3 separate regions of the Homo sapiens genome follow, and regions 1 and 2 are each linked to region 3. Evidence: promoter capture Hi-C in human tissues and cell types (Jung and others, 2019). All regions are on one chromosome and are shown on one strand. Each heading gives the region's core, a stretch centred on a gene start or on the middle of the fragment in contact. The rest is flanking DNA. Distances are from core to core; before and after follow the strand shown. Region 1 holds the start of RAB40C (RAB40C, member RAS oncogene family). Region 2 overlaps RAB40C (RAB40C, member RAS oncogene family). Region 3 holds the start of LUC7L (LUC7 like).

Region 1 (3,453 bases), core at 335-2,834, 360 kb before region 3:
ACTGCACTCCAGCCTGGCGACAGAGTGAGACTCCGTCTCAAAAAAAAAAAAAAGAAAGAAAAGAAAAGAAAACAAAACAAAACAAATGTTCAGTAACTCATTACAGAGGTATTTTCTTCTAGCACAAAGCGTTGACTCCCTCAGCAGTAAGCAAATACCTCAGGGGAACAGCGTGCCTATAAGGACCTGTCATCTGTGCACGCTCGAGACAGGGTCCCAAGAGCAGCCCAGCAGCACCTGCCACCAGACCTGGGTCCGTGACACCTTCCCCGGGCCCATGACACCTTTCCCCAGATCTATAACACCTTCCCTCGGACCCCAGATGATCCCAGACCCATGACACCTTCCCTTAGGACCATGATGCCTTCCCCCAGATCTATGACACCTTCCCTCAGACCCCAGATGATCCTAGACCCATGACACCTTCCCCTGAGATCCCAGACCATGACACCTTCCCTTAGGCCCATGACACCTTCCCCTGAGATCCCAGACCCATGACACCTTTCCCCAGATCTATGACACCTTCCCTCGGACCCCAGATGATCCCAGACCCATGACAGCTTCCCTTAGGACCATGATGCCTTCCCCCAGATCTATGACACCTTTCCTCGGACCCCAGATGATCCTAGACCCATGACACCTTCCTTTTGGCCCATGACGCCTTCTACCGGGACCATGACATCTTTCCCCGGACCCCAGATCCTGGACCCATGACACCTTCCCTCGGACCTATGACACCTTCTCCCAGACCCCAGATCCTGCACCCATGACACCTTCCCTCCGGCCCACGACACCTTCCCCCGAGCCCATGACACCTTCCCTCGGACCCCAGATGATCCTAGACCCATGACACCTTCCCCAGGCCCATGACACCTTCTCTAGGACCCATGACACCTTCCCCTGGGCTCCAGATCCCGGACCCATGACACCTTCCCCTGAGATCCCGGACCCGTGACACCGTCCCCCAGACCCCGGGTCCATGGCACCGTCCCCGCTGGGCGCGTCCCTCTGGTCCGTCCTCCTGCCCCCCGGCGTCACCTCGGGACTGGAGCACGGGCACCCCGCAGCCACCGAGCTACCGAGTCTGGAAGCCAGGCAAAGGCGTTCCTGGGAACGTTCGGCGGCGCTTGGAAGGGCCGGGCCGAGGGCGAGCTCCGTGCCCAGCTCGCCGGGCTCGGGCCCCGCGTAGCAGCGCGCGCCGCGGGCCGGGCCTTACCGTTACTGTAGGCGTACGGGGACTCTGCCGCGCCGTCCTGCAGGCTCTCCAGGATCTCGCCCTTGCCCACGTCGCTGTCGCCCACCAGCAGGAACTTGAGCAGGTAGTCGTAGCTCTTCACCGGACTGCCCTGCGAGCCCATGGCCGCGCCGCCTGCGCCCCGCGCCGGCCGCCTGCCGAAGCACCGCCGGGTGAGGCCGCGGCGTGAGAGAGCCCGCGCCCCGCACCTGCGCCCGTTGCGTCCGCCCCACGGCGGCCGAGTGGGCGCGCCCGAAGCCCAGCGCCGGCCCCGCCCCGCCCGCGCCCGGGCGCACCTCAGCCTCGCCGCCGCCCCGCCGCTTCCCGCACCACCAGGGCCGCCGCGCCGCCCCACCCCCGGCCGCGCCGCCGCCATTGGCCACCCTTCGCCCGCCCTCCCGAGCCCATTGGCCCACCCGCCCGTCCGTCACGACTTCCCCGCCCTCACGGCGTTCCACACGGCGCCGCCAGACCTCCGGTCGCACCGCCTCTTCACCACCCCGCCCTGCCTTCCCGTAGTCACCAGAGGTCGCCCGCCGCCCTCCTTCCCTCAGCCATTGGCCTGTCTGCACGTCTGTCATGACCGCCCCTCCCCCGCCTTTCCCACACGGCGTTGCGGAGACAGCGGACGCCTGCCTCATCGCCGTCGCCATTGGCCACTCGCCTCCTGCTTTCCCGGAACCATTGGTTCGATTATAAGTTCACCAAGATCATTCCCTTCCCTGCGGCTGCCTCCCAGAGAAATCCCAGAGCCGCCGGCCGCCCCGCCCCCGGCCCACAACGCCGTTGTCCTCGCCCGCCCCGTCGCCGGCGCCATTGGGTCGCTTGCATGTCCATCACGGCTCTGCTAACCCCGCCCCTTTCCTACACGCTCGCCAATCAGGGGCTCGGAAGTCCACGTTGTTTGTATCCGCCCCTTCAACGCGCGGACGGGCGGCAGGATGCAGGCGCGCCCGAGCCGAGGCGATGCGGCTGAGTCCGGGAAACGAAAGCCCCTCGCAGGCTGTGCCGCCTGCTTCCGCAGAACCCTCGGAGGGAGCGGCGGGGTGGCCCCGGGCGCGTCCTCTCTAAGGCGGTGCGGCCAATCGGCGCTCGATGAGGCGGAACTTCCTCTCCGGGGCAGGGGCGGGACTTCCGCCCGGCGGCGGCGGGGCGCACCGTTGGGTCACCAGTGAGTCTGCAAAGTCGCTGAGGTTCTGGGACAGCGCGGCGTCACCGAGCGTGAGCCTTCCGCCCGGGGACGCGGCCGCCACAGCTCGGGACGCGGGGAGCGCGGCCGGCGCGAGCTCAAGACCCGGCCCGACGTGCTCACTGCGGCAGCGGCGCCTCCTGGACGGGGACCCAGGGCCCGGACCGCGCTCTTCCCGGGGGCGCCGCCGAGCCCTCGTCCCTGCCGGGCCCGGCTGCCGCAGGTGCGTGGGCGAGCGAGGCGGCTGCGTCCGCGGGCCCCGGCGTGGGGTCGGGGGTTGAGTGGGCACGTGGTTCTTTCTGGGGTGACGAGAAGGTCCTACCGTCGTGGGGATGGTCCTGCCTCTCTCGGTGAAGTTACTCACTCGGAACGGGTGAGCTTTGTGATACGTGCTCTGCGTTCAGTAGCGCTGTTACAGTCGTAAGTAAAAGCAGTAACGTCAGCGCCGACCCAGCGCAGCCCTCTCCAGACCGGGTGCGGAGCCCGTCACGTCTGCCCCGCCGGCGAGGAGCAGAGCCCGGCAAGAACCCTCCTCCAGAGGGGCCCCGACCAGGGCTGTGCCTCCGGGAGCAGGTGCTGCTTACACAGAGGGACGCCAGGACGGGCAGCCCCACACCTCCAGTGACCTCCCGTCCCCCAGAGCTGAAGACATGGCCTGACTAAGCGGCGACCACATCGACGCACCAGTTTTTTCTTTTTTGAAACAGGGTCTCCCTTTGTCGCCCAGGCTGCAGTGCAGTAGCGCGATCTCGGCTCACTGCAGCCTCTACCTCCCCGGCACAAGCGATCCTCCAGCCTCAGCCTCCCGAGTAGCTGGGACTACAGGCGCCACCATGCCCGGCTACCTTTTGTATTTTTTGTAGAGATGGCGCCTTGCCAAGTTCCCCAGGCATTAACCCGGAAACAACCTGGCGGGTCAGGGAGAGCCTCTTCTGCTCAGAGGTCATTGTGCCCAGACTTGAGCCCTGGCTGTGAAGTCCCTGAGGCCCCTCACTCCAGGGACGGGAAGCACCAAAGATGTGATGTTTCC
Region 2 (3,651 bases), core at 1,018-3,517, 400 kb before region 3:
ACGATCTCCGCTCACTGCAACCTCCGCCTCCTGGGTTCAAGCGATTCTCCTGCCTCAGCCTCCCGAATAGCTGGGACTACAGGTGTGCGTCACCACGCCCGGTTAATTTTTGTATTTTTAGTAGAGACGGGGTTTCACCGTGTTGGCCAGGCTGGTCTCGAAGTCCTGACCTCAGGTGATCCACCTGCTGTGGCCTCCCAAAGTGCTGGGATTACAGGAGTGAGCCACCGTGCCAGGCCCGTGCTTCCTCTTAAGAAGGACAGTGACACCGTCAGCCACCCTCTCTCTGTTCAGCAGTGAACCCTGCTGGGAGGCACCACAAAATCAACAGTACCACCTCCCTGAGGGGGGCTTCACGGGAGCCTCTGATCAAGGATGTGGCTACCCAGGAAGAGCAGATGACACAACACAAAGCTGCAGGCACGGCTCCTGTGCTCCCCTGACAGCAGGACCAGCCCCGGAACCAGGAAGGAGCGAGCACACACTGCCCACACCAGCAATGCCAGGGACCCACAGGCATGGCAGAGTGCAGCGGCCACGGCGGCACCCTGAGGGGGGGTCATCAGCTGCTCCTGTGCCCCCCAGTGCTGCCGCCTCTCCCCCGAGGCTGCTCTTACCAAGTCACTGACCTGCCGCCGGCCGAGCCCCTACTGCGCGTTGCCAAGGGACCTGCCTGAACCTCCCTCACTGGCCCCTGGCCCCCCTCAGCCTCCATGTGATCAGGGCAGCCCAGGTTCGGGGACCTCAGGGCTGGCCGGCGCCCGCCCACCCACCTCGGTTGGGCCTCCAGATCTTCTCCATGCCGTGCCGCATGAGCACGATGCGGGATAGCTCCGTGAAGGACTCGATGACGTTGAAGTTGCACAGGGGGCTGACCTCAAAGAAGGTCATGCAGTTCTTCTCTGCGTACGCGCGGGCCTGCTCCGTCGGGACCTGCCGCTTGAAGGCCAGGTGCAGCCGGTTTCCAACCAAGATCCGGGGGACTCCGGGTGCATGCTGGGGGCACAGAACTCAGCAGACGCACAAACGCAGGGTGCCACCCACCCCTCAGCCGCAGCAGGGCCCGCCCTCATTGTCTGGACTATGATGGGGTGAGGGCCGTGGGAGGTCAAGGTGGGCGGAGGTCAAGGTGGGCAGACCCCAGGGCTCAGGCCCTACAGTGCAGCCCTTCCGGGTGGCCCCGTAGCTCCTGGTCTTGCTGGGCTCCACGCCCGACTGTCGTGTGCACAGTGACCAGCATGCCCAGGCGTAGGCCGTGGGACAGTGCAGGGTGCAGAGCCGGGGCCACAGGAGGGGCGGCAGGCGGGAATCCAGAGCCTACCCGGGGCCCAGGTACCTCCATCCAGCCTGCCTTCCCCGGGAGGGCTCCCCGGACCCAGGCCTACCTCATCGATCTCCTTGATCCAGCGGTCGATGCCGTCAAAGGACCAGCGGTTGGTGATGTCATACACCAAGAGGATCCCCTGCAACAGAGACTTGGGGGTCATCAGGGGTCACTGACACGCATGGCCAGCCCAGGCCCAGGGACGCTCAGGTGCAGGGGCCTCAGTTCCCGGGCAGGGCCAAGGATGCTTATTACTTGGCGGATGGGCAGATGAGCCATGCCCTCCAGGCAGAGCTGGTGCAGCCCTGCCCCTCACCCCTGCCCTCACCTGGCAGGACTGCAGCAGGGGGGTGGGCGCCTTCCATGGTGTCAGAAATGCCGCTTCCCCTCCCTCCCCTGGAGCCATCAGCCTGTGGAAGTTTCCTGGGCAGGCAGATGCGGGGTTCTGGCAGCCGGGGGACGTGCAGCTGTGGAAGCTAAGTGTCCTCTCGGCCAGTCCATCAGTGAATCCCCCCGGGAGTACCTGGGACAGAGCTGAGTGGGGGCATTTCTGAGTTTTCCAACCTAAAACTTGCAGAGCAGAATGCCAGTCCCTCCAGGACAGTTTCTGTGAAGCTCCCCCAGCCAGGCAGAGCAGGTTTTGCCACGGGGACTTTTTGCCACATCCCTTAGAGACCAATTACTTGGAGCTCAGCTCTGGGCTGTTTCCACCTGCCCTAAATATCTCGGCAGTGACAGTCATGGCTCTCCAGCAGCACAGGGGAGCACACTGCTCACACTCAGAGCCCTGTCGGGCGAAACGGTGACATCACAGGCCCATTCCCCTATGCCCGCCTCTCCCCAACGTCCACTCCCACCCTACAATTCTGCAACCAGATCCAGCCAATGAGCTGTGATCCACCCTACTCCTAGGCTGACAAAACCTTCACGTAATGGAAGAGCCTATCACACAAGAGGCTGAGGCTGAAAGAAGAGGGCACTGTCCATCTGAAAATTAGGGTTTTTAGAGCCTCTTAGAACCATCTTTCGATATCTGGAAGACTGAAGTGTAGCCCCAGGTCCTGTTTAGAACAAGGTTGACATTACTAAGCTCCCAGGGCGAAGGCCTTGCTCAGGATGGAGCGACAGCTCAGGAAGGACACCTCTCGCTGAGGGAGACCCTTCGAGGCCAGAGATGGCCAAGTCAGTCTGGTGGGCGATAAATGATAAGATTCAGAATAAACAAATGCACACCCAGGGGTTAACCCTGGAGGTTGGGGCACAGGGACTGGGGCTGGCTCATTTGCTGCTGGGGGAGGTGGAGAGACTGGGGAGTGGGCCACCAAAGCGTACAACACAGCCCACTCTCCCTAGTGGCAACCTCCCGCATGGCAACCTCCCGCATGGCAAGCCCACAACTCAGAAGTAACTGAGGATGTGTGTCACAGTGGCGCTGATAACAACGACAAGCCAGACACAAATTAAATGTCCAGCCTCAGGGGACAGCTGAGTAAGCGGCAGTGAAATGTACCGTGCAGATGCTGAAGACAGCAGCAGTGCATGTAAAAGCGTGCATGCTGGCCAAGGAGAGATGTGCAACCCAGGTGAGGTAAGAACGCAGGTCCCAGCACTGCGGATGGCATTTTCTTTTTTTTTGAAACAGGGTCTCACTCTGTCAGCCAGGCTGGGGTTCATGCAGTGGCACGATCATGGCTCACTGCAGCCTGATATTCTGAGCCTCAGCTTCCTGAGTGGCTGGGAATACAGGTGTGAACCACCACATCTGGCTAAGTTTTTTTAAACATTTTTTAGAGATGGGATCTTGCTATGTTGCCCAGGCTGGTCTTGAACCCCTGGCCTCAAGTGATCCTCCTGCCTCAACTTCCTAAAGTGCTGGGATCAGAGGTGTGAGCCACTGTGCCCAGCCCAGCATGATTTCTTTTTTTTTTTTTTTTGAGACGGAGTCTCACTCTGTCGCCCAGGCTGGAGTGCAGCCGCACGATCTCCGCTTCCGGGTTCACGCCATTCTCCTGCCTCAGTCTCCTGAGTAGCTGGGACTACAGGCGCCCGCCACCATGCCCGGCTAATTTTTTTGTATTTTTTTTTAGTAGAGACAGGGTTTCACCGTGTTAGCCAGGATGGTCTTGATCTCCTGACCTCCCGATCTGCCCACCTCGGCCTCCCAAAGTGCTGGGATGACAGGCGTGAGCCACCGCGCCCGGCCCAGCATGATTTTTAAAAAATAAAAGTATGAACACACAACACATTACACTGAAGAAGTTTATATGGACATAAAACAAATGCTAAAAGGCTGGAGAGGGGTAACTTTTGATGCTGACCTGTTTTCT
Region 3 (3,666 bases), core at 933-3,432:
GCTTTCAGAAAAGCCAAGAAAACCAAGAAAAAATTCATTCTGAGTATATACAGAACTGCTGGACAGAGGTCATCCTATACGTGTGGTACACGTACAAATATGACATAAGAAGAAGTATGAATTATTGCAGTCATTATTAAACAACGAAGTATGCCAAATTAGTCATCAGGTTTCAAAGAATCATAGCCTTCTTTCCATAGGTCCCGCCACGTTTTAAGGAAACGTGCCTTTTCTGTACATTTGAAGGCAAGTTCTTCCACTTGAGCTGATACTGCAGATGTGGCTTCAAGAAGTTTGGTTAATGAAAAGGCTGCGTCTCCGATCTGCAGCCCCACTTCCTCCAGCGGGTCCACCGTTCGGCCGCTGCTCCTGCTCGGAACTGGCCAGCCCAAACTCACTGGGCTGCCAGGGTAAGATGCTGCAGAGGCGTCTGAAGAGGAGGGAGAAGGAGGCGGCGGGGGCGGCGAAGAAACCTGCAACTTCTCAGGGTCGGCCATGGGGAAGGGCTGGCACCGCGGAATCCGACCCGAGCAGCCCAACGGACACCCTATTTATTTATTTTAAATAGAGAGCAGGGGCCTGGCGTTCTGGCTCACAGCTGTAATCCGAGGACTTTGGGAGGCTGAGGTGGGCGGATCACCTGAGGTTAGGAGTTTAAGACCAGCCTGGCCAACATGGCGGAACCCCGTCTCTGCAAAAGTACAAAAAAAAAGTTAGTCGGGAATGATGGCGGGTGCCTGTAATCCCAGCTACTGGGGAGACTGAGACAAGAGAATCGCTTGAACCCAGGAGTCAGAGGATGCAGGAAGCCGAGATCGCGCCACTGCACTCCAGGCTGGGCGACAGAGGGAGACTCCGTCTCAAAAATAAATAAAATACGGCAGGGCGCGGTGGCTCACGCCTGTAATCTCAGCACTTTGGGAGGCCGAGGCAGGCAGATCACAAGGTCAGAAGTTCAAGACCAGCCTGGCCAATACGGTACAACACCGTGTCTACCGAAAATACAAAAATCAGCTGGGCATGGTGGCTGGCTACTTGAGGTCAAGACTTTGAGACCAGCCTGGCCAGCATGGTGAAACCCCGTCTCTACTTAACATTCAAAAATTAGCCGGAGGGGGTGGCGGGCGCCTGAAATTCCAGCTACTGGGGAGACTGAGGCAGGAGAATCGCTTCAACCCGGGAGGCGGAGCTTACAGTGAGCCGAGATCGCGCCACAGCATTCCAGCCTGGGTGACAGAGCAAGACTCCGTCTCAAAAAAAAAATAAACAAATAAAAAATAAAGACCGGGCGTGGTGGCTCATGCCTGTAATCCCAGCACTTTGGGAGGTTGAGGCAGGAGAATCGCTTGAACCCAGGAGGCGGAGGTTGCGGAGAGCCAAGATCGCGCCATTGCACTCTAGCCTGGGCGAAACTCCGTCTCAAAAATAAATAAATAAATAATAGAGGTTTAATATAATAGAAGTATATGCCAGACTATGCACACATAAGTGCATGCTATAATTCTATTATCACATAAAATAACTGCTTACATATGCCTTTTCTTTAGTCCCTGGGACAGTAGACCATGAGCTCACAAAAGGACGACCACGAGGTTGTAATCATAGAACCTAATATTAATGCCATGACTGATGGCCAAACGTGGTGGTTCACACCAGTAATCCCAATACTTTGCCGGGCTGAGGCGGGAGGATAAGGAGCCGGGGAGGTCGAGGCTGCAGTGAGCGGTAATCGCGCCACTGCATTCCAGCCTGGGCGACGGAGCAAGACCCTCGCTCTAAATAAATAAATAAATAAATAAATAAAATTCCATGCTTTATTTAACTTTCACAAAAATCATATGAGGGGCACCTTTAGAACCCTCATTTCACAGATTTAAAAAAACGAGCGTCGGGGAGCTAAATAATATGCTCACGGTTTCATGGCTAGCTTAGAAAAAGCACGGATTCATCTTGTTTTTGATTGACTGTATTTCATTTTATTGTAGTTTACCCTCCGTAGAGACTCGTTTGAGGTCCTGGGGGTCTAGAGTAAAATCAGGGTTGGGATTTTGGTTCCGCCGTTGGACAACTTGCGACCACTCAGAGCCTCAGCCTCCCTAAGCACCCACCCCAGAAACTACATTTCCCAGCAGGGCGTGCGCCGGCGCCGTCGTACTTCCTCCCGGCGTCCCCCGCGGCGGGAAAGAGCCGAGTGGGCTCGAGGCCGACGCGACCATCGTTTGTCGACGCCGCTGCCACCGCCTGCCTGAGAGAAGTCGTCGCGGCCGACCCCGTCGCCTCCGCCGGCTACCATGTCCGCCCAGGCGCAGATGCGGGCCCTGCTGGACCAGCTCATGGGCACGGCTCGGGACGGTGAGTCAGAGCGGCCAACCAGGCGAGGGTCTGGGGTGGGAGTGAGGCGAGGCCGCCGGGCGGCCTGAGGCGGGGGCCGCGATCGTCTGCGCCTGCGCCTGCGCGGGGCATCGCTCCTCCTCCCCCGCGCTCCGACCGCAGGCGCCGGGCCTTTGTCTAAGCCGGTGCGTCTCTGAGGCGGCCGTGGGTCCAGGTCGGGCTCCTCTCTCGGAGTCTGCGCCATGGATGGGGCTTCAGCCTCCTTCCTATGTACCGTCCTGCTACTTCCTCCCCGGCGGGCGCCGCGGCTCCGTGCCCCTCCGCGAACTGTGGAGTCGGCGGAGGGCTGGAATCAGCGTGGGCTCCAGGTCGCTGGCAGCCGGGTGGCAGAACTCTTCCGAGGCTCCTTGGGAAGAAGCTACACCCGAGGGAGCCGGATGGGCCTCGAAAACCTGGCCCGCTCTGGTTCTGTACCATTGCAAGGGGAACCGTAAACTGAGCTTTTCTAACGTGGGTTTCTGCCAAGTACTTTTCCAGCTGCCCCCTTCCCCCCAGCACACAGGAGAGCCTCTGTGTAGCCAGCGCTTGACAGTCGTTAGGTAGGTTGTACTGTGTAGGGAGGAGCTCAAGATCATGATGGTTGTCACAGGAGAAAGCGGTTGCATCTTTGCAAAACTATATACCTGCTGTGGTTTGTGTTTTCTTTTCTGCTGAGTAATGAAGTTGTAAGTTCACACTGGCACATTCTCAGGGCTGTGCAGATTATTTGCACTTTATTTCATAGGTGAATAAGTGCTTTTTAGCTTTCTTTGTATATTGAGTTGCTTTTGAATTGCTTCCCATATTTTTATTTCATACAAACTGAACAATTGTGGCCCCTCTATTTTATTTATAAAGGTTCAGTGTATCTTTGCCTGCCTACATCAATCTGCAAGGGAGTTGCAGAAAGCCTCATGTTCATCGAGCCGTGAGTCACAACCAATTTCTAAGCTGTTATAACAAAAAAGTGTTTGCTTTTTTTCACAAGTAACTTTAAAAGTGTAGTTTAGAAAGAAAACATTTTCAATAAAAAGACACTACATTAATCCTGGATGCTTGCAAATCCTAAAATATATTCCTCCTCTAGCGTTGCACAGCTCTGTGTTGTATACACAGACTAGCTTTAAAATTTGTCACATACCACTTTACCTTTACTTTTATGTATCATTCCCCCGACTTCCTTACTGCAGGTGTGGGCAAGAAAACTTTTCCTTTAACACTTTTCAACAGCGGGCATAAAATTCTGCAGCTGAGGTCTTGAAGAATGCAGATGGGTACAGTATGTGTTGGAGCTCA

Evidence for each region. The method cuts DNA at HindIII sites, captures the fragments that hold promoters and counts their contacts. A contact is called where the count stands out against the background at its distance.
Region 1: a contact is called between the fragment with the promoter of RAB40C here and the fragment with the promoter of LUC7L in region 3, in 1 of the 25 tissues and cell types used here (dorsolateral prefrontal cortex).
Region 2: a fragment that was not itself captured here is called in contact with the fragment with the promoter of LUC7L in region 3 in 1 of the 25 tissues and cell types used here (dorsolateral prefrontal cortex).

The regions. Positions count from the first base shown.
Region 1 is chr16:588,197-591,649 of GRCh38, reverse strand. RAB40C (RAB40C, member RAS oncogene family) reads right to left here and starts at 1,584. Exons shown (of 6, transcript NM_021168.5): 1 at 1,217-1,584. The coding sequence starts at 1,358. RefSeq lists silencers at 1,374-1,693, 1,784-1,903, 1,974-2,023, 2,034-2,093, 2,414-2,723 and enhancers at 2,068-2,941, 3,064-3,263. The HindIII fragment of the contact is 16,228 bases long and covers 1-3,453 here.
Region 2 is chr16:623,244-626,894 of GRCh38, reverse strand. RAB40C (RAB40C, member RAS oncogene family) reads right to left here. Exons shown (of 6, transcript NM_021168.5): 4 at 1,386-1,463; 5 at 774-996. Among named protein-coding and RNA genes, the nearest start is that of WFIKKN1, 5.9 kb to the left of the region's middle. The HindIII fragment of the contact is 6,315 bases long and covers 1-3,651 here.
Region 3 is chr16:227,965-231,630 of GRCh38, reverse strand. It overlaps LUC7L (LUC7 like), which reads left to right and starts at 2,182. Exons shown (of 10, transcript NM_201412.3): 1 at 2,182-2,352. The coding sequence starts at 2,292. It also overlaps the pseudogene C4orf46P1. RefSeq lists an enhancer at 1,810-2,506 and a silencer at 2,339-2,568. The HindIII fragment of the contact is 19,974 bases long and covers 1-3,666 here.